6 separate regions of the Homo sapiens genome follow, and regions 1, 3, 4, 5 and 6 are each linked to region 2. Evidence: promoter capture Hi-C in 16 types of primary human blood cells and fetal thymus (Javierre and others, 2016). All regions are on one chromosome and are shown on one strand. The core of a region is centred on a gene start or on the middle of the fragment in contact, and the rest is flanking DNA. Distances in the headings are between cores, read along the strand shown. Region 1 overlaps MYO3B (myosin IIIB). Region 2 holds the start of LINC01124 (long intergenic non-protein coding RNA 1124). Region 3 overlaps MYO3B (myosin IIIB). Region 4 overlaps MYO3B (myosin IIIB). Region 5 holds the start of LOC124906090 (a long non-coding RNA gene). Region 6 overlaps MYO3B (myosin IIIB).

The links. Contacts are between HindIII fragments. The CHiCAGO score rates a contact against its expected background, and 5 or more counts as called.
Region 1: a fragment that was not itself captured here is called in contact with the fragment with the promoter of LINC01124 in region 2 in 1 of 17 cell types (megakaryocytes); the score reaches 6.3 in megakaryocytes.
Region 3: a fragment that was not itself captured here is called in contact with the fragment with the promoter of LINC01124 in region 2 in 12 of 17 cell types (endothelial precursors, naive CD4 T cells, fetal thymus and 9 more); the score reaches 12.3 in endothelial precursors.
Region 4: a contact is called between a fragment that was not itself captured here and the fragment with the promoter of LINC01124 in region 2, in 1 of 17 cell types (megakaryocytes). The highest score is 5.1, in megakaryocytes.
Region 5: a fragment that was not itself captured here is called in contact with the fragment with the promoter of LINC01124 in region 2 in 1 of 17 cell types (megakaryocytes); the score reaches 5.3 in megakaryocytes.
Region 6: a fragment that was not itself captured here is called in contact with the fragment with the promoter of LINC01124 in region 2 in 9 of 17 cell types (endothelial precursors, non-activated CD4 T cells, M2 macrophages and 6 more); the score reaches 8.8 in endothelial precursors.

What each region holds. Positions count from the first base shown.
Region 1 is chr2:170,315,765-170,318,765 of GRCh38, forward strand. All of the region lies in intron 7 of MYO3B (myosin IIIB), which reads left to right. Among named protein-coding and RNA genes, the nearest start is that of MYO3B-AS1, 34 kb to the right of the region's middle. The HindIII fragment of the contact is 4,137 bases long and covers 1-3,001 here.
Region 2 is chr2:170,713,227-170,716,195 of GRCh38, forward strand. It overlaps LINC01124 (long intergenic non-protein coding RNA 1124), which reads right to left and starts at 1,341. Exons shown (of 1, transcript NR_027433.1): 1 at 1-1,341. SP5 (Sp5 transcription factor) reads left to right here and starts at 2,111. Exons shown (of 2, transcript NM_001003845.3): 1 at 2,111-2,337. The coding sequence starts at 2,287. The region is part of intron 5 of ERICH2-DT (ERICH2 divergent transcript); the gene reads right to left. RefSeq lists a silencer at 1,428-1,477 and enhancers at 1,695-2,484, 2,485-2,969. The HindIII fragment of the contact is 7,273 bases long and covers 1-2,969 here.
Region 3 is chr2:170,408,844-170,411,566 of GRCh38, forward strand. All of the region lies in intron 22 of MYO3B (myosin IIIB), which reads left to right. Among named protein-coding and RNA genes, the nearest start is that of MYO3B-AS1, 59 kb to the left of the region's middle. The HindIII fragment of the contact is 1,380 bases long and covers 678-2,057 here.
Region 4 is chr2:170,241,660-170,244,359 of GRCh38, forward strand. The region is part of intron 7 of MYO3B (myosin IIIB); the gene reads left to right. Among named protein-coding and RNA genes, the nearest start is that of MYO3B, 65 kb to the left of the region's middle. The HindIII fragment of the contact is 1,556 bases long and covers 527-2,082 here.
Region 5 is chr2:170,338,107-170,340,806 of GRCh38, forward strand. The region is part of intron 8 of MYO3B (myosin IIIB); the gene reads left to right. It overlaps MYO3B-AS1 (MYO3B antisense RNA 1), which reads right to left. Exons shown (of 4, transcript NR_110576.1): 4 at 2,411-2,700. It overlaps LOC124906090 (a long non-coding RNA gene), which reads right to left and starts at 2,142. Exons shown (of 4, transcript XR_007087292.1): 1 at 2,061-2,142. RefSeq lists an enhancer at 2,181-2,700. The HindIII fragment of the contact is 583 bases long and covers 1,049-1,631 here.
Region 6 is chr2:170,427,298-170,430,324 of GRCh38, forward strand. All of the region lies in intron 22 of MYO3B (myosin IIIB), which reads left to right. Among named protein-coding and RNA genes, the nearest start is that of MYO3B-AS1, 78 kb to the left of the region's middle. The HindIII fragment of the contact is 1,151 bases long and covers 966-2,116 here.

The DNA.
Region 1 (3,001 bases), core at 214-2,713, 400 kb before region 2:
CTGAGGCTTAGAGGAGTTAGGAAATTGCCCAGGCTGATGAAGATAGTAAGCACTAGAACTGGAATATGAACCCAGGCAATCTGACTTCAGAGCCCACACTCTGCAGGCTCTCCTAGCCTTAGCTTATCTCTGTGACTGGAACCCTGATCCTGACAGATATCTGGAAAAAATCACATTCTTTGTCTCCTAGGATCTAGGCAGATCAATGCAAATGTGATCTCAAAATGACACATGTCTGGGCTATTTCAGAGATGATTCCAAAGCTGATTTAGTGGATTATTTTTTACTGGCATGATTACTATTGATTGTTATTGTGTTCTTAGATGAAATAATTGGCCTAGTATTCCATATTCCCATATCTCACAGTGTTATGATCTTCAAAACTTCAGCCATACATGCATATGCATATAGACACATATAAATGTGTGTGTATTAATGAAGTATATGTACATATGTGTGTGTATTAATGAAGTATCTGACTTTAAAAGCTAATTAATTATTTTAGATATAACAATTTACTGAATTATTTCCAAATTACTCTGAAACCAAGGTATTTCTAGGAAAATCAGCTGAAGTTCTTAAAATGGTCTTTAAATGAATCATTTCCTCTTCCAAAGAATTTGTTTTTGTTCCTAAGAGCAATTTTCCCTCACTGCATCTTCTGAATACTCATAAAATCTTCATTTTAAAATCTGAAAAGGTCATCTTATCTACCCACTTATGCCTGGGCAGGAAATCTTAGAAGATCATATTACTGTTTTTAATGACCTATGGAGGATGCCATGCCACCTATTTTGGCAGTTTATTGCCTTTCCTAATAATCTAGCTAGTCAGCAGGTACTTCCTGATGTGTGAACAAAATGTCTTCTGCTGCCTTGGCTTATTCCATTTGATGGTCATGAGACTAATGTTATCTTATTCATGGTCCTTTTCCTAAGGCCAGAAAATCACAGTATCTATAACTCAGTCGATAGTTATGGTCACATTCTAATTCCTTAAGTGCCTCCATCTTGAACAGTCCTCTGAGTCCCAATTGTTGTAATGTGGGTGAGGTGCTGTGAGCATGCCATCTGTTTGCGAGAATGGTGCCACTGATGGCTACACATTTGACACTGAAGATGGCACTGCTCATCTAAATCAAAATTTGGGACCTATAGAAGCTGGCTGCAGACACCTGCATTGACTCTCACTTTGTAAAGAGATGTGGCCATTGGATGGAAACATGAGCCTGGAGTGTCATTTGTATTGCATTTTTGTTTATTGAGGATAACTGCTATACTCATCTTTGTATAAAGCATGGAAGTAATAGGATCAAATTAAGAAAAACTACTTAGATGGAATAGCAGGGAAGTTTCCCTAATGAAAAGATCTGATAGACCATGGAATAGCCTTCCCCAGGAAGGCTGGTCTCATTGAGATGTGGTTATTACCGAGAAACCAAATAGTCCCCCACTGGATGCATCTTGGGCGATTTGCATTTTGGTTTGTGACTTTGATTTAATTGGAAAAGTATCTCACATCTGTTGTTGACTACATAAGTCTGTTTCCCAAATTCTAGTTATGTCACAGTTGCCTAGCGAACTTGTTAAAATGCAGATTCCTGGGCCCTGTTCCCAGAGGTTCTGTTTCATTAGGTCTGTGATAGTCTGGGACTCTTTGTGTTCACCAAATTTCCTGGATGATTCTATGCAAAGGGCTGTAAACTCTGTTTTGAAAAACATGGAGTTAGGGCCATTTTGGGAAGATTTCAGATCTGATAGTAAGTGTATCTGTGTATTTTGATTTGTCCCTTATCCTCATCCTAATACTCTAGTTTGCCCCATCACCAGAGTCCTCTTCTGTTTGCAGATAGGAGGAAATGTTTGGTGAAAGACCGGAGGTTGCTAAGAGGAGAGTATTTCTCCAAGGAGCCCTAACCTTACTCAAGCTGGCATTCCCTGTGCTTCCCATGAGGCAGCTTACTATAGGGTAGTGTTTTTCAAAATTCTGTGGGAATTTATTCTTAAAAAGGAGGTTCCATGATCAGAGAAGTGTGAGAAACATTGTGGAAAACAAAGGTAACCAGATGCTTTACTGCAGGATTTCCTAGAGTTTTTATCGTGATAAAATCTTCACCATTTTCTAAATTTTTGGTCACAGGATTTCTCATGGGACTACTGATTCATGGGACGCATTGAAAAACTCAGTGAGTTGAAAGCAAGAAAAATTAGTTTATAACTGCTACTTTTCACCCAAATAATAGAGTGACCTTGGATATGTCCTTTATTTTCCTCAAGTTTGTTTTCTCGTCTGTGAAATAAGAGTAATCATGCCACCTTACCTAGGTCATAGGGTCATTTTGAGGATTGAATGAAATACATTTGTGACAGTGCTTTGTAAAATATAAAGCATCATTAGTTGTCATTGGGAAACTAACTAGTTGCATACAAGTTTGGAGAGTAGAGAGAGAGCACTGGACAGTTTATATTCATCTTTGCTTAGACTTTCCTTAGATTGACCAAATGGGACTGAAAAATCTGGTCTGTTTACTTCACCAGGGTTTGTCTTAATACCATGTTAATGGTTAACTAGAGATTCTCTTTTACTACTTTCTAAATTATTCCACTGACACACTGATTTAACTAAATATTATAGTCCTTAATACCTTGTAGTCAATGCAGATCCAGGACTAGGAATTGGTGGCACATGGTGAAGGAGATGTTCAGGGCTATGAGCCAATAGGATGGGGAGGGCTAGGACTGGGAAGAACTGGAAGCTAGGATGCTGATGTGGTTATTGGGCTGTACCCCATGATGTGAGTGGTCTCAAGCGAAATTTCCTTGTCTTGAAGATTTTGGCCAAACTTGGGGTCAAATAAGTAAGAGTCATATATAAGAGATCCAGTATAGTGGGTGGCAAGAGCAGAGCAGGAGGTACCTCTATGCAGAGAAGACGTATATAAATTCAGTAGCTGTGGTGCTGTAATTCTGAGTTGTTAGTGTGGGTTGGAGCTTGATGACAA
Region 2 (2,969 bases), core at 91-2,590:
TCGAGTCTCACGCTTCTCCAAGACTCAAATCCTGGACGGGAGCGTGGGAAGGAGCAGGTTGGCCAGGCCTCGGATGAAACCACTAAGCTCTCTCCCCTTCTCCGCTCCCAGAGCAGCCGACCTCATCTTCAGAAGCCAGATCGGGTCGGCCAAGTTGTGTGGTCGCCGCTCGCGTTTTAGAGGGGACAACTCGTTGGGGGAGAAGGGGGCGTGCGAGTGCAGGATGTGCGAGGGACCCATTGTATTTGGGTCGCAAGCAGCCCACCCGTCTTGAGTACGATATTCTCATTCCGCAGGCGCGCCCTGGGCGTGGGAGAAGGTGGGCCCGGAGGCATCGCATCCCCGACCCCTGATGGAAGTGCGGAGGGCATCCTTATACAGTCCAGATTCCGAGTCCGTTGTAGTTAGGCTAACCTCTGACGCTGCATCGGGAGATAGGTCACCCCGTCCGTCCCGGTCGCAGTGCGGTTCCCGTGAGGAAGACGGGCAGAGAGGCCGGGCGCGAACTGATTAGGGGCTCCCCCACGGCCGGCGGCCTGGAGAGTGGAGACTGTGTCCGACGGGAGGTGGGTGGGGGAGAGGAGTAGGCCGAGCTCCGGCGGCCACTCCGCAGTGCGCTCTCGCGAGCCGGGGCCGCGAGGCCTCCAACGCGGTTCCGCACCCCTAATGCCCCAGGGCGGTGAGCACCCCGCGGTTCCCCGCCCGCCTCTTCCTCCTTCCCCGCCCGCGCGCCCGGGAGAGGCGATCCCCGCGTCCGCAGTGCCGGGGCAGGACGCGCCCTGCGCCCTGGGCCAGGAGGAGGCAGGTGGCCCTCCTCGGCAGGAGGTGAGCCGCCAGGGAGGGATGGGGGTCACCCAAGCCCCTGCAAGCGCGACCCTGCCCAGAGCAAAGCACGCCCCGCGCCTGGTGAGGAACTTTTTCTTTCCAAAGGTGGCAGGAACAAGTCTGTACTGACTTTTCTCCCGCCTTCGGGATCCTCTCTCGTATGATTTGTGGTTTGTGGGACCACAACAACCAGGCTTCCTCGACCGCGCCTTTTTTCCAGTAGCTCCTGGTCTGCCAGGCTTGCGAGAGGGCGCGCTGGCTTGGCGGGGCTCCGGGCGAGAAATCACCAGCAGCGCTGGGGCTTTCGGCCCCCCACAGCCCAGCCCGGGCCTCCTGGGTGGCCTGGGGAGAAGGGGGCGGGACAGCACAGCTTCTTCCCCTCGGGTGGGCATGACGGGTCGCCTTGGGTGTCCTGCCGAGCTCAGCTTTGAGGGTATGCGCGGCGCGGGTGTTTTTCCCAGGTCCACTCTGCAAAAGTTGTGGCCTGAGGAAAACTTCCAGGTCGCCAGCAGGAACGTCACAGGAGAGCCCCGGTCGCTCGTCAGGCGGGCGGCCCTGGAGCGTGCGCGCCACCCAACGCCGCGCTGGGCGGCCGCCCGGCCCCGCCCCAGGTCACAGCCCTGCCCTCGGCCCCACCGCGGCGGGCGGGGGACACGCGGCGGGCCGGGCGCTGTCGGTCCCACGCCCCACCGGGGATCTCGCTTGGGTCCGCTGTGTGCGCGGGCGGGTGCGTGTGCGGCGAGGGTGCAGGGTGTGCAAGTAAATACAGGGGAGAGTTACACTCTTTGCCGTCTCAAAGTCCGGCGCCTGGAAGCCGAAGGCAGATTTTTCCAGAGATAACAAAGACACTTTGTCACTTTGGGCGCTGCGTCGGTGCAAATCTTTAATTGCAAGTGTGTGTGTGTGTGTGTGTGTGTATGTTGGGGGGGGCGGGAAGAGTGTCTCGAGCAACCCAAGCGCGGGTCTCCAGGCGGCAAGGCCCCCTTTGATCAGGAAAATCCAATTATTTGTGTATATACATTTCCCACATAGTGATTACTTCATTAATTGTCCCGCCTTTATCTCCTCCCTTCCCATCCCCCCTAATAATCAGTTCTTTTATCCAGACCAACAAACACACCATAGGAGCTTTGTGGATTCAAAGGATTTGCTTTCGCTTCTGAAAGAGCCGCTATTCTTTGATGATTGGGTAGCGGCAAACTTCAAAGCCATAAATCTTCCCTCTGACTGGCTGGCGGCCCAGCAAAGTCCTTATCAAATTCTTGGAGGTGATCCTGAAGCGCTCAGACCGCGCGCGGGGCGAGCGAGCGGGGCGCGGCGAGGGGCAAGGGCGGGGAGGGCCCCGGCGCTCAGAGCAGGCGCCAGGGAGGCAGGCTGGGCGGCCCTTCGTCCTCGCCTTCGGGTGTCCATGCCTCGGCGGCGGCGTCCCGCTCCGCAGCCAGGGGCCTGCAAGCCGTAGCCATGGCCGCGGTGGCCGTCCTCCGGAACGACTCGCTGCAGGCCTTTCTCCAGGTCAGGGCCGAGCCCGGAGGGGGCGGGAGAAAGGTGGAAAGGGCCGTGTCCGGATCTCTCCTGGTACTCCGTGCACCTTGAACCTCAAAGGGAACCCCGCCGATGGGTGCAGCTGGAGCCAGGCCTAGGGGTGCCCACGCCAACTTCACACCTAATCCGGTGTGGCCTTTGCTGGAGGGACGCGTGGATCCGGGATTGTTCGGAGGTGCCCGGCTGGCCGAGAACAGGACCGGAGCTCACCCTGCTGGGCCCTCCTGCTGATTTCAGCCTGGGGCGGGCCAGGGAGGAGCGCGAAGGCAGTGAGGACAAGAGAGCTTAAAAGATGGGAGGGAGAGCGGCCGGCCGGCGGGGTTGTGGGTGTTTCCCGACTCTTACTGACCACGGAGCCGGGAGGGGCCCGTCGGATGCCTCCCCCTCCCACTTCGCGCCTGCTTCCTCTAAGGCTGGATGGCGTCTCAGTGCACCAAGTAGTTTAGCAAGAAGCGCTCGCGGGCCCCACGTTCAGGTAGCGCAGGCACCAAAAGTTTCCCTCGGCCGGTGGGTGCGTGCGTGGGGTGCGGTGGCGGGGGAGGGACGGCCGGGACGGAGGAGGGGCGGCGGTATAATAGCGGGCGTGGGGGCGGCGGGCTGGC
Region 3 (2,723 bases), core at 118-2,617, 300 kb before region 2:
GCTCCTGTAAACAGAACTAGTAGCAGTGCCCATCAGAAGGCTGCCCTCCAGCTTCCATTCCAGACCTTCCTTGGAGCAGCCGGGGTTTAATTCAATATGGAATCCCAGGAGCTCGGGGCAGGTGTGGAAAGGGCTATCTGGTGTTTCCTTACCAGAGACCCAGGGATGTAGACTCCTCATCAGGCGACTTCAGCACAGAGGTGAAGAGACAGCCATTATTGATAGGGGACATGCTCTCTGGGAAAAAAATCTATCCAAATAACTCTTCAGCTGGCATTTACATCCTCCCACAAATATTAATAACGACTTGTCAAATCTGTTCACAACTTCGGAATTTCCGATTTTTCAACCTTTGGCAAAATAAAAACCATTTAACAGCCTGGACCACTAGGGGGCGCTATGCAGAAAGTAAGGCCCTGCAGCCGGTCTCTGTTCTCCCTTGATTCACCCAACTGCGGGAGGAACAGGAACAAAGAGATAACCTCCGCCGCTGCGTCTTTTTTACCCCTCCCAAAGAGCTTTCCTCTTGTTTCTGAATCTTGTTTTGAAACTACACTCCACACCACTTGATAGAAACAAAAGTGAAAAATAAGACTAGACACAAACGTGATGTACCAATAGGCTTCCCAGTATTCCTGAGCTATATATTATGCATAGTAATTTCCTTTGAGATCCTAAGCTTGAGTATAGCTTAGGATTCTCCACATTTTGAGTATAGTTAAGAAGCCACAAACATCAAAACTTATAAGCATGATTGTGTTTTCTTTTTCTGGAATTATTTATGTAGGAATGAATTCAATCAACAAACATTTAAAGAACAGCTTCTAGTAATAAGGTACTTTTTAGGCAACGAGGGAAATATAGGAGTAAAGGTAATACGGCTTTGCCGTACACCAACTAGAACTTTCTTTTAACTTCATTTTCTATATGGAATTTTCTATACAGAATTGGGCACTAATTTATCTCCTTATGACAATAGTTGCCCTCAAACCTCGATTCTAACATGATTGTGCATCCTGTGTTGAATGTCAGAATATTACTTTTCTAAATTTTAAAACGTTCATAGTCTATATTTTTGGGGGTTATTATGTTACAGCCTTTGAAGATGGGAAACCTCACTGGACAGAAATAAGTTATGCTGTTCTTTGCCAATGCTTGTTTCAGGCATGTCCCTCTCGTGAAGGGGAAGGTGCCTATACATCTTGATGTTCCCACTAGAAGCAAGATCCCACACTATCCTGGCACTTTGGAAAAGAATATGCTAATATTTTCAATGCATAAGAAACCATTTTCTTGTCACTTTTATTTTTCCTTGCTTTAATTGTTTTATCGAAATTAAATGGAGCACTAGTTCAGTAAGCATATATATTATGGTCAATTACTTTACAAACCTCTTTTGAGGAATGAACTACAGGGAGGAAGGAAAAAGATCAAAGTTGAGGCCAGGCGCGGTGGCTCACGCCTGTAATCCCAGCACTTTGGGAGGCCGAGGCAGGCGGATCACAAGGTGGGTGGATCACGAGGTCAGGAGTTCGAGACCAGCCTGGCCAACATAGTGAAACCCCGTCTCTACTAAAAATACAAAAAATTAGCCGGGTGTGGTGGCGGGCACCTGTAATCCCAGCTACTAGGGAGTCTGGAGCAGGAGAATTGCTTGAACCCAGGAGGTGGAGGTTGCGGTGAGCCAAGACCATGCCATTGCACTCCAGCCTGGGAACAGTGCAAGACTCCGTCTCAACAAAAAAAAAGAAAAAAAAAAAAAAAAAAACTTGGGAAACCTTAGAGGCAATTAGCTCAAAGCATAAAAGGAGGTCCAGTGCTGGACTCCTCAATTTTGAAAGAGGAGAAGACGTTTGTTAGGAAGACCCCTAAGAGATGTTGGCAGTGGTCTGGCTCCTGATCTTGGTGGTGGTTACATGTATGCTTGCATTATATTTATTATGCTGTACATTTATGTTTTGCATACTTTTTTGTGTGTGCATTCTGTGTCATAGTAATGTTGGGTTTTTTTCTCCAAAAGATAGAGAAGACCCCTTAAAATACAAAGAGAAAAAAAAAGCTTGATGTGGTAGCGCATGGCTAGAGTCCCAGCTACTCAGGAGGCTGAGGCAGGAGAATCACTTGAGCCCAGGAGTTCAAGGCCGGTCTGGGCAACACAGTGACACCCCCCATCTCTGAAAAAAAATTAGAATTAAAATTGTTTAAATGCAAAGAAAAACTTTAATTTCTTTATCGAAGGATTCCTGACAGTTAACTTGAGGTTTTCTGGTAGCTAGATTGCCACTGTCCTTTGCTTTCAAAACAGCCCCAGGATCACTTTCCTGTTCTTTCAAGTTACCTCCTCTCTGGGTTGCTGGGCAGGTAACATTCCCTTCATTAGTATATATCAAAAAAAGTATAGTCATGCATAGCTTAATGATGGGGATGCATTCTGAGAAATGCATCGTTAGTTGATTTCATCGTTGTACAAACATCATAGAGTTCTTACACAAACCTAAATGATATAATCTACTATACATCTAGGCTATATGTTGTAGTCTACTGTTCTCGGGCTGTAAACCTGTACAGTATGTTACTATACTGAATGTTGTAGTTAATTGTAAGACAATGCCAAGTATTTGTGTATCTAAACATATCTAAACATAGAAAAGGTACAGTACAACTATGGTATGATAATGTTACAGGACCACCAGTTTATATGCAGTCCATTGTTGACCAAAATG
Region 4 (2,700 bases), core at 55-2,554, 470 kb before region 2:
TCCTTGTGGACTGCCTGGATGCTGTGGGTAGTGGGGCAGATGGGCAAGTCACTGCTTGAAATATTTGTGTGTCTATTTGAAGAGCTTCCTCAGGGACTCAGTGCCTACAATCGACTCTCATCCTGAAATAGGATCCTTGGGCTAAATTTTTATCTTACATAGGCATTTTTTTTTTTAAGATTCCTTTTGATGCTGACTTTCCTAATTCACAAACCAAATTGTTCCTATATGGGAAGCAGTAGTCTCTGCCTGCTCCTCCGCTGTGAGATGCAGAGGCAGCAGGGAGCCCTGAGTCACCAGTAATTGTCTCACTATTACAGAATTGTCACAGGACATTTTCCTTTAGGGCTGTGAAATATAAAGGAAAGAAATTAAAACTAAACTATTGTTGAAGTGTAATGAGTGAGGGGTGCTGAGTGTTTAATGGCACAGTGAGGCTGGATTTGCCCTGGGGAGTATTGGTTTCTCTTCACCAACCCAGGTCACTTAGCTATTGGCCTTTTGAGCAATGAATCCCCACGATCCAAGCTTCACTCATAAAGCAAGAAGTGCTAGAAGAATTAGCATCATTTAGCATTTATTGAGTGCCTAATAGCAAAAAAAAAGTTTTAAAATATTCCAATAGAAAAACAGTTATGTTTTATGTATCTTTTTCTTTCTTTGAGAGATTTCTAATCCCATTTTTAATGGATTGCCTTCAGTATGTACCCTGTTCCAGATCCCCAGAATATCTTCTGGGCCCAGGACTTGACACTCCCTTTCCGTGGGAACCCAGTAGCTGGAGGCATCTGGCAGAAATGCCCCAGAAGGCTTTCACTCTGTGGAACACATTGCCAAATTATTTTTAAATTCGAGTTGAGCAGCTGGGGCCATTCAGTCCTATGTAGGTACTGCTTGCTGCCCCCTGCCTGAGTCCTGGCAGGCAGGGAGAATTTAGCTTTGCAAGGTTTCATTTGGGGATCAGGTGACAAAGCAGGAGCATGCCTTCAGGGACTTTGGGTCCCCACCACTACTGAGTAAGAAGCTCACCCTGAGAGACAGGCCAAAGGTGCGAGGGGTTGATTCCCAGCGCTATCTGTGCCTTCTTCTCATTACCCTGGTATATTATTTTGGCACAACTGACTGTGGCTAATTCCAACCCACCTCCTAAATGATGGAGAGATGGGCAAAGAAGTAGGCAAGGAAACAGAGCTCAAAATTGTGCTAGAGTTGAGGCACCCTGGTTTCCTCTCTACTCCAGAAAAAACTAAGGAATAAAGGTGAGGAATAATTATAACTGCCTTTATGGGTTGGCATAATGGTAGGGGCAGGGGTAAGACAGGGATGAGGAGCAATGAGGTGATAGTCTAAAGGAAGGTTCTTCACAGCTGGAGCTATCCATTCCTGGAGGATCCTAGAGTCAAGTGAAGCCAGTATCATTTGAAGGAAAATATAGTATAGTGGTCCAGCATGGTTGTTTGTATCAGTTAACTACTAGTATGTAACAAACCATCCCCAAACTTAGTTGCTTAAACAACAAACATTTATGATTTTTCATGAGTCTATGGGTTTCTCTGGGTGGTTCTGCAGATCTTGGCTGGGCTTGCTCATGCATCTGTGATCAGCTGAGAATGTGGCTGTGTTGGTTGGTCTAGGATAGCCTTGGCTAGGATGACTTGGCTCTGGTCCATGTTGTTTCTTATCTTCCAGCAGGCTAGCCTGAGGTAGTTCTCATATTGGTGACAGGGTTCTAAGCACAGATAGAGGAAGGAACAGAAAATTGGACCAGTTTTGCTCTCAAGTTATTACAGTGTTCTACAGTCAATCTACACGGGTTCAACTAGCAGCTCCATCACTTTCAAGTTCACCAGTGTGAACTTGACCAAGTTACTGCATGTCTGTGTGTGTCAGTGTCCTCCCTTATAAAATGAGGATTTGAGTAATGTCGACCTCATAGAGCTATTGTGGGAGTTAAAGAATGTAAATTGGTCAGAATATTTCATAGTAAGCATTCAATTCATGCTGGATGCTACCAAGGAAAATATCTCAAGGGCATATTTATACTGTAAGGAATTTTCTTTCCCTTGTAGCTGAAGAATTGAAAGCTTCTATTCAAAAAGAGCCACCCATGAGATCAGTCATTTGAAAGTTCAGCTAATTGATTGATTGATGATTGTATGAGGAATTAAGAGAGAATGAAGGCTGATTTCTGAAGTCCCTACTACTTACATTGCATCTATGTGAAGGACTCTGCCATTAGTATCCATTGTCACAACTCCTTTGTAAATAGACACACTCTTAAGAGATACGGTCACATACACCTCACCCTCACACACATACATGAATGCTGTGACAGGAACTGCACATGAGGAAGCAGGGCTGGCCTTAGTCTCCACTGCCATGATGTCTACAACGAGTGGTGATGCTGTCATCCTCTGAAGAGAACTAGGGCCATGGTACTTTTCCTTTGCTATCAGTTCTATCAGTTTTTGTGGTGGTTTTGTGCTCGGTTGATGAGTCGTATGACTGGTCTTGGCTGCCTCCTTCTATAGGGTCCTTTTAGCCCCCTTAGTAGGTTCAACCTTCTCCAGGGTTCTAGAAATTTTTTTGTCTGCAGATAAAGGGACAATAGCAAGAGTTCTAAACTTAGGGTCATTGATTCAAAATTGAGTCCCATTTTGCTATTTCCTCTACCACAGATAATATTTTTTTTCCCAGCCC
Region 5 (2,700 bases), core at 90-2,589, 380 kb before region 2:
TTCCCAATTCTGAGAATTTCAGATGCACTCATTCTGAGTTGCAAAAGGTCTTGAATACTAGAATGGAGGGCTAAACACAGAAAACAATGCCTTTGAGTATGCATACTGTCAGGAGCAAAGCAAAAAGCATCCTGTTGTAATTGCAAGGGAGGGAGAGTCTGGAAAGTTTATAATGAGTCAGGAAGGCAATTAGAAATTAAGTGATTATGTGGTTTAGTACTAGTTTAAGATGGAAATATGTCATCAGTCTTCTTTTTTGTTTAATGAGTTGTCTTTACGGTTTTTTATTAGTGAAAAATTTTATATAATAGGTGTTTATAGATTCCTTCTTGACCTCAGCCCTCCAATCCTGTTTTCCCATAACATCTTAGGTGCTTCAACCATAAATTCTTCTGCAATATTTTTGGGAATATTTCTCAAAATTGGGAACTGATTATTATATTATATATCTTTAAATAGAAGCCTGCCCACCATTCCCAAATAATATACTTTCTTTTTTTTGTTTGTTTGTTTTGAGACAGAGTCTCACTGTGTTGCCCAGGCTGGAGTACAGTGGCATGATCTTGGCTCACTGCAACCTTGGCCTCCCGGGATCAAATGATTCTTGTGCCTCAGCCTCCCAAGTAGCTGGAATTACAGGTGTGTGCCACCAGGACCAGCTAGTTTTTACATTTTTAGCAGAGATGGGGTTTCACCATGTTGGCCAGGTTAGTCTCGAACTCCTGACCTCAAGTGATCTGCCCACCTCAGCCTCCCAAAGTGCTGGGATTTACAGGTGTGAGCCACTGAGCCCAGCCCCAAATAATATCCTTTCATTCTGTAGAGGAGACTGCTGATACTAGGCTGCCATTACTCAGCCTATCAAATGCAGTTTGACCAAATGCTGTGCATTATATTTATTCAAATCTCTAATTCAGTATAAACAATGATATTCACTGGGTTTGAAATGTCTATTTAAAGAGAGAGCCTTAGTTTGTTTTTATACTTATCTTGCTCATATTAGGAGTCAAGGGAAAGAAAGATGGAGGATTAAGACCTTCAGATTATAAGCTTTTCATTATTGGAGGGACTGGGCTGGAGAAGATGATTATCTGGTAATTTTAGGAAAAGTTTCTTTTAACCTGAATTATACAGATAATTGCTTCAGTTCCCTTTGTAAACCAAGACATAGTAAATCTAACTGTTTCTCTTTAAAGAATAAATAGGACAAAAAGTTCCTTAACGGCTTTAAGACCTTTAATACTTTGTCCTCATGTGACTACTGAGCCGTAACAGAGTCGATTCAATACTCTAGGTCTTTTTTAGTCCATGCTGGTCACTACCCACCAAAAGATTTCGTATTGACTGCTGCAGGGATCTGAACAAGTTGGTCTGGCTGCAGCCTAGTGATTATAGCTATGTAGACAGGGCACAGTGGGGTGTGTGTGTGCACGTGCATACGCGTGTAGGAGGGCCAGGAAGGCAGGAAATCAGGAGCACTGGGGATGTGGCTTAGTGTGTTTCAGATTTATTTCCAGCCTCCTTAATTTAGAGATAGTAAGAGAGATTTTTTAAAACATCTAAAAGTCTGAAATACTATTAGTAAACCTGTTTGGGGGTTTTAAAAGAAGCATCAGCCTGTTTGGTTCTGAAGCTTTGGTTGTTAGTGATAATTGATTCATTTATATTCATTAGTTATGCGTTTGTCAAAGCATGATTCCTGACAGCTTAGTTATGATAAATTAAATGCAATGCTCACATAAATTCTGCACTGCTTTTCATCCATATGCTAGGACCCTGCTTGATGTGTTTTGTCACCTCTATAATGTGTGGTTGGCTTTGTAGAGATTTCATTATCAGCCCTTTCCCCTACGACTAAAGCTATTTGCATAACAAGTTTATCTGGTTCAAGTACCAGCCAGACTTCTGCTTTGTCAGGAGGCTCCATTCAGAAGTAGCCTTTTGATAAGATAAAAATAATTTTCATTTTGTCAACTTCACCTTGGTCCTAATGGATGTCACTTTTCTTTTTAAGTTCAAGCTAATTTCAGGTCTTTGGAATCAACTACAAAAATACTTACCAAGTCATTGGTCACAAGGTATTTGTGAGCTATGCTTTCTCATTTTGCCTCTATAACTTTAGTGGTTTTTTAGGAATTAAATTTAGGACCTCATCATCAGTGGTCCTTGAGCCGATTATTGAGACAATCAAGATGGATTTCTCTTGGTCAAGGGCAATTCCACCAATAGCATCACGGCTGCTCAGCTTTGGATTTAATGATGACTTGAACTACATGGTCACCTGCACATGAACTGTTCTTTCTTGAGGTGGCTGGCTTGGGTAGTATAGGGGAGAAAAAGTAATATCTTTTCATCACCTACTGTGAGGTTAATGGCTGACATTCCTATAACAAAAGACAGATTAACAAAAGAAAAGTGGAACAAATTTATTTAATGTAAGTTTTATGTGACACAGGAGCCTTCACTCAAAAACCGAGTGAAAACTACTTTTGTGGTTAGGTTTAATGAATGATGGACAGTTGTATAGAAGTATGATTGAACAAAAAAGGCATATGATCTAATGGTAATAAACTGGGGAAAACTTAGCAAGTCCTCAGATTCTTCTCAGCCTCTCTGTGTAACATTTCTTCCTTCTGATTATATGGCAGGTCACCTGTCACATGAGGATCTTCAAGAGAGAGAGGGTGGGAGAAGGTCAGA
Region 6 (3,027 bases), core at 291-2,790, 290 kb before region 2:
CAAGTCTGTCAGATAATACTTTAATTTAGAAAGTCTTTTTGAAATCAGTTAGTTTGGATAATACAGCATTACAGTTCCATAAAGCCAAGGTCTCCAAAAATCAATGCCTGTGCTTAAGAATGTAAGTTACATTAACTTCATTCTTTAACACCATGAAACATATAAATTTCAATGGAAGAAGTGTTTCTGGGCACTGGCGTTTTATGAACGGGTTATACATATATCTATAAGAAATGTGTGTGCATGGGTGTTCAGAAACATTATAACAATGTAGTTTAGATATGAGTAATGCTGGCCAATTGGGCACATGCAAGTTTGGTTTCCTGTGGAATACTACCTATTTCAGTATGCCTCTCCTTATTTTCTGGATTCTTAAGTTGCTATAGTTTTTCCCAAGGATATATACATATACATGGATGTTTATACTAGGTTCTTTTATAAAAGAGCTAGTGACATGGAATAGTCATTCTTTAAAATATAACAAAAATAACTGGTAAATGTGAAAATTAGACTTGGATACCTATATATCAAAAGCTACCCTTGAGTACTTTCAGAGACCCAATAGGAAAAAAAAGCTCGTATAAGTGATTATTGCCTTCACATTAGCACCCAGTTTTTCAAAATGGCTGGTACTTGCCAATATGCAAACAGAAGCATAATGTTTTACTAGGAGAATAGATGTTATAAAGATGTTGAAAAATGAACACCTTGAATTCATTAATCTTAAAAACATTGCAGAAAGGGAGCAAAAAACTATGCCTCTGTCTCCTCTCACGTGCTAAGAAACAAGAATGATATTAAAAAATTAGAGAACTGAATAAGCTTACCTTAGCCACAATAGCAAAGTAAAGGAGGAGGAATAACTGAAGAGATCATAGCAACAGAGCCATTGCTGGTTGCCTGTGTTAGCTGTGAAGAGAACATTGGCAAATTAAATATCCAGGCCTCTGTAAAACCACTATCTAAGCTTCCTCCATTTATCTAAGCGAGGCTATCATCACCACCCACTTCTTCTGTTGCCTACTGAACTGCTAAGAAATAATACATTTTGCAGATTTTAGTTTTATTGTCTTTATTTTGTTCTTTCTTATTTCCCCCACTTCAGGGGTCTTTTAGGAGATATTTCACAACTATAGATAAAATTTCAGAGCTGGATGGAAGCCTAACAATACTTAACTTTTTTTACTCCAACTTGCATCTAGTTATTGCACTTACGTGTTTCCTTGTTGTTCAGCGTGTTGTTGATTTTTGAACAATACTGTTTACTTCCTTGATTAGCTCTCTGATTTATAGCTTAGGTAAAGCTCACACATGTCCTGGCCACAGATATCACACAATATTTTATTTTGGCACCAGGTTGACATTACACACTGTTCGTTGTAGTTCCATTTCAGAGAACAGTCCACCCCCATCTACACCACATGCCTGGCATTGATCTAGGTGAAGCTACATAGCCACAAAGGGTGTTCATTATGGACACCATGACGGAATGCCATGACACACAAGTGCAGAACCACTGATCTTCTCAAACTCCTCATTTGACATATAATACAAATGAGTCATAAAGAGTAGACATGATCTCCTTAAGTCAGTGGCAGGTGTGGGATAGGAATCCAAGTTTCTCACTTTCCAGTGTCCTTTTCATTGCTTCCATGCTAAAGAGGGAAACTCAAAAAAGCAGTTATAGTTCCAAGCACTGAATCATAATCCTGCACAATGGGAAGCTAACAGCGTCTTGTTTGCTGAAGCCCTGTGTAACTTTCTCAGGCTTAAAAACACAAGGAAGCATAGGTGTTGCGGGAAATTATATGACTGACCTACCACCAATAGATAAGGTATGTTGTGCAAATCTTCTAGGGAGGGATTTTTTAATTTGCAGTGATCAGTTGATTTGCTCCTGCCTGAGCATTTTATTTAGGATTCTATTCTTAGACTGTGGAATGTAACTTCTCTGTATGAAACTACCTGACCCATATGAGATTTTACTTAAGACTTTGGCCATATCAGCACTATTTTAACTGGAATGAGTCTCCTAGTAGCTCGTATCCAAACCATCCACCTTTGGCCACACAGATGAATGGGCATTCTACCTGAAGGCCACCTGAAGAGCAGAACAAGCTTTTGTTCCCAGTCCCACCAGTGACTTATGATACCTTAGCAAAGCCTTCTTCCCCATATTTTCTTCCCCCTAAAACTGTCCCCACAGGTGGTATTTTCACTGGAAGGGAGTGGTGAGTAACTTGTTTTTATGTTTGCAAGGGTAAAATAATAAATGTTTTAATGCTATTATTAAATGTCTAATTTTAAAATAAGAAGCCTCCTAGAAATTTGTCTTACAAGCTCTCTGGAACTCTCTGGAACCCTCAGGTTTACATTCTGTATCTGTCTTGCGCATGTCTTTCAGATAGAATACCTTCCATTTCCTGTCAAACTCATGTTAAGCTTTCACAATCTAGCTCATTCATTGACTACTCTTCAGTTTTTGTTTTCCTCATCCTCTCATGAAAACTTAGTATTCTGTCCCCTTGTGTCACTTTATTCAGAGATTTATTCTAACACTCACCAGTTTCAATCGCAATGAATTGTTTATATGTCAGCCTTTCCCCTTCCCCCCAAGAGCTTCTCTGGGCTGTCTTCTCCTTAAAACAAAGAACTGTATAGTTGGCTCTTGAACAATGTTGGTTTGAACTGTGCAGGTCCACTTATACACAGGTTTTTTTTTTTTTTTTCAAACAAATGCAGATAAAAAATACAATATTGGTTGGATGCAAAACTGCATATATGGAGGGCCAACTTTTCATATATGTGGGTTCTTCAGGGCTGAGTGCGTAGGTTTTGGTATACTAGGGGGTACTAGAATGAATCCCTCATATATACTAATTGCATTCTATTCATCTTTATAAGACCCATAGAAGGCCTTTACTGTATTATTTCAAAGTATGAATAACATGAGCATCATTAAACAAAAGGTCCCCTATTTCAAAACTGTCCCCCTTACCTGGACACTAGATCATCTACAGGTTTTCA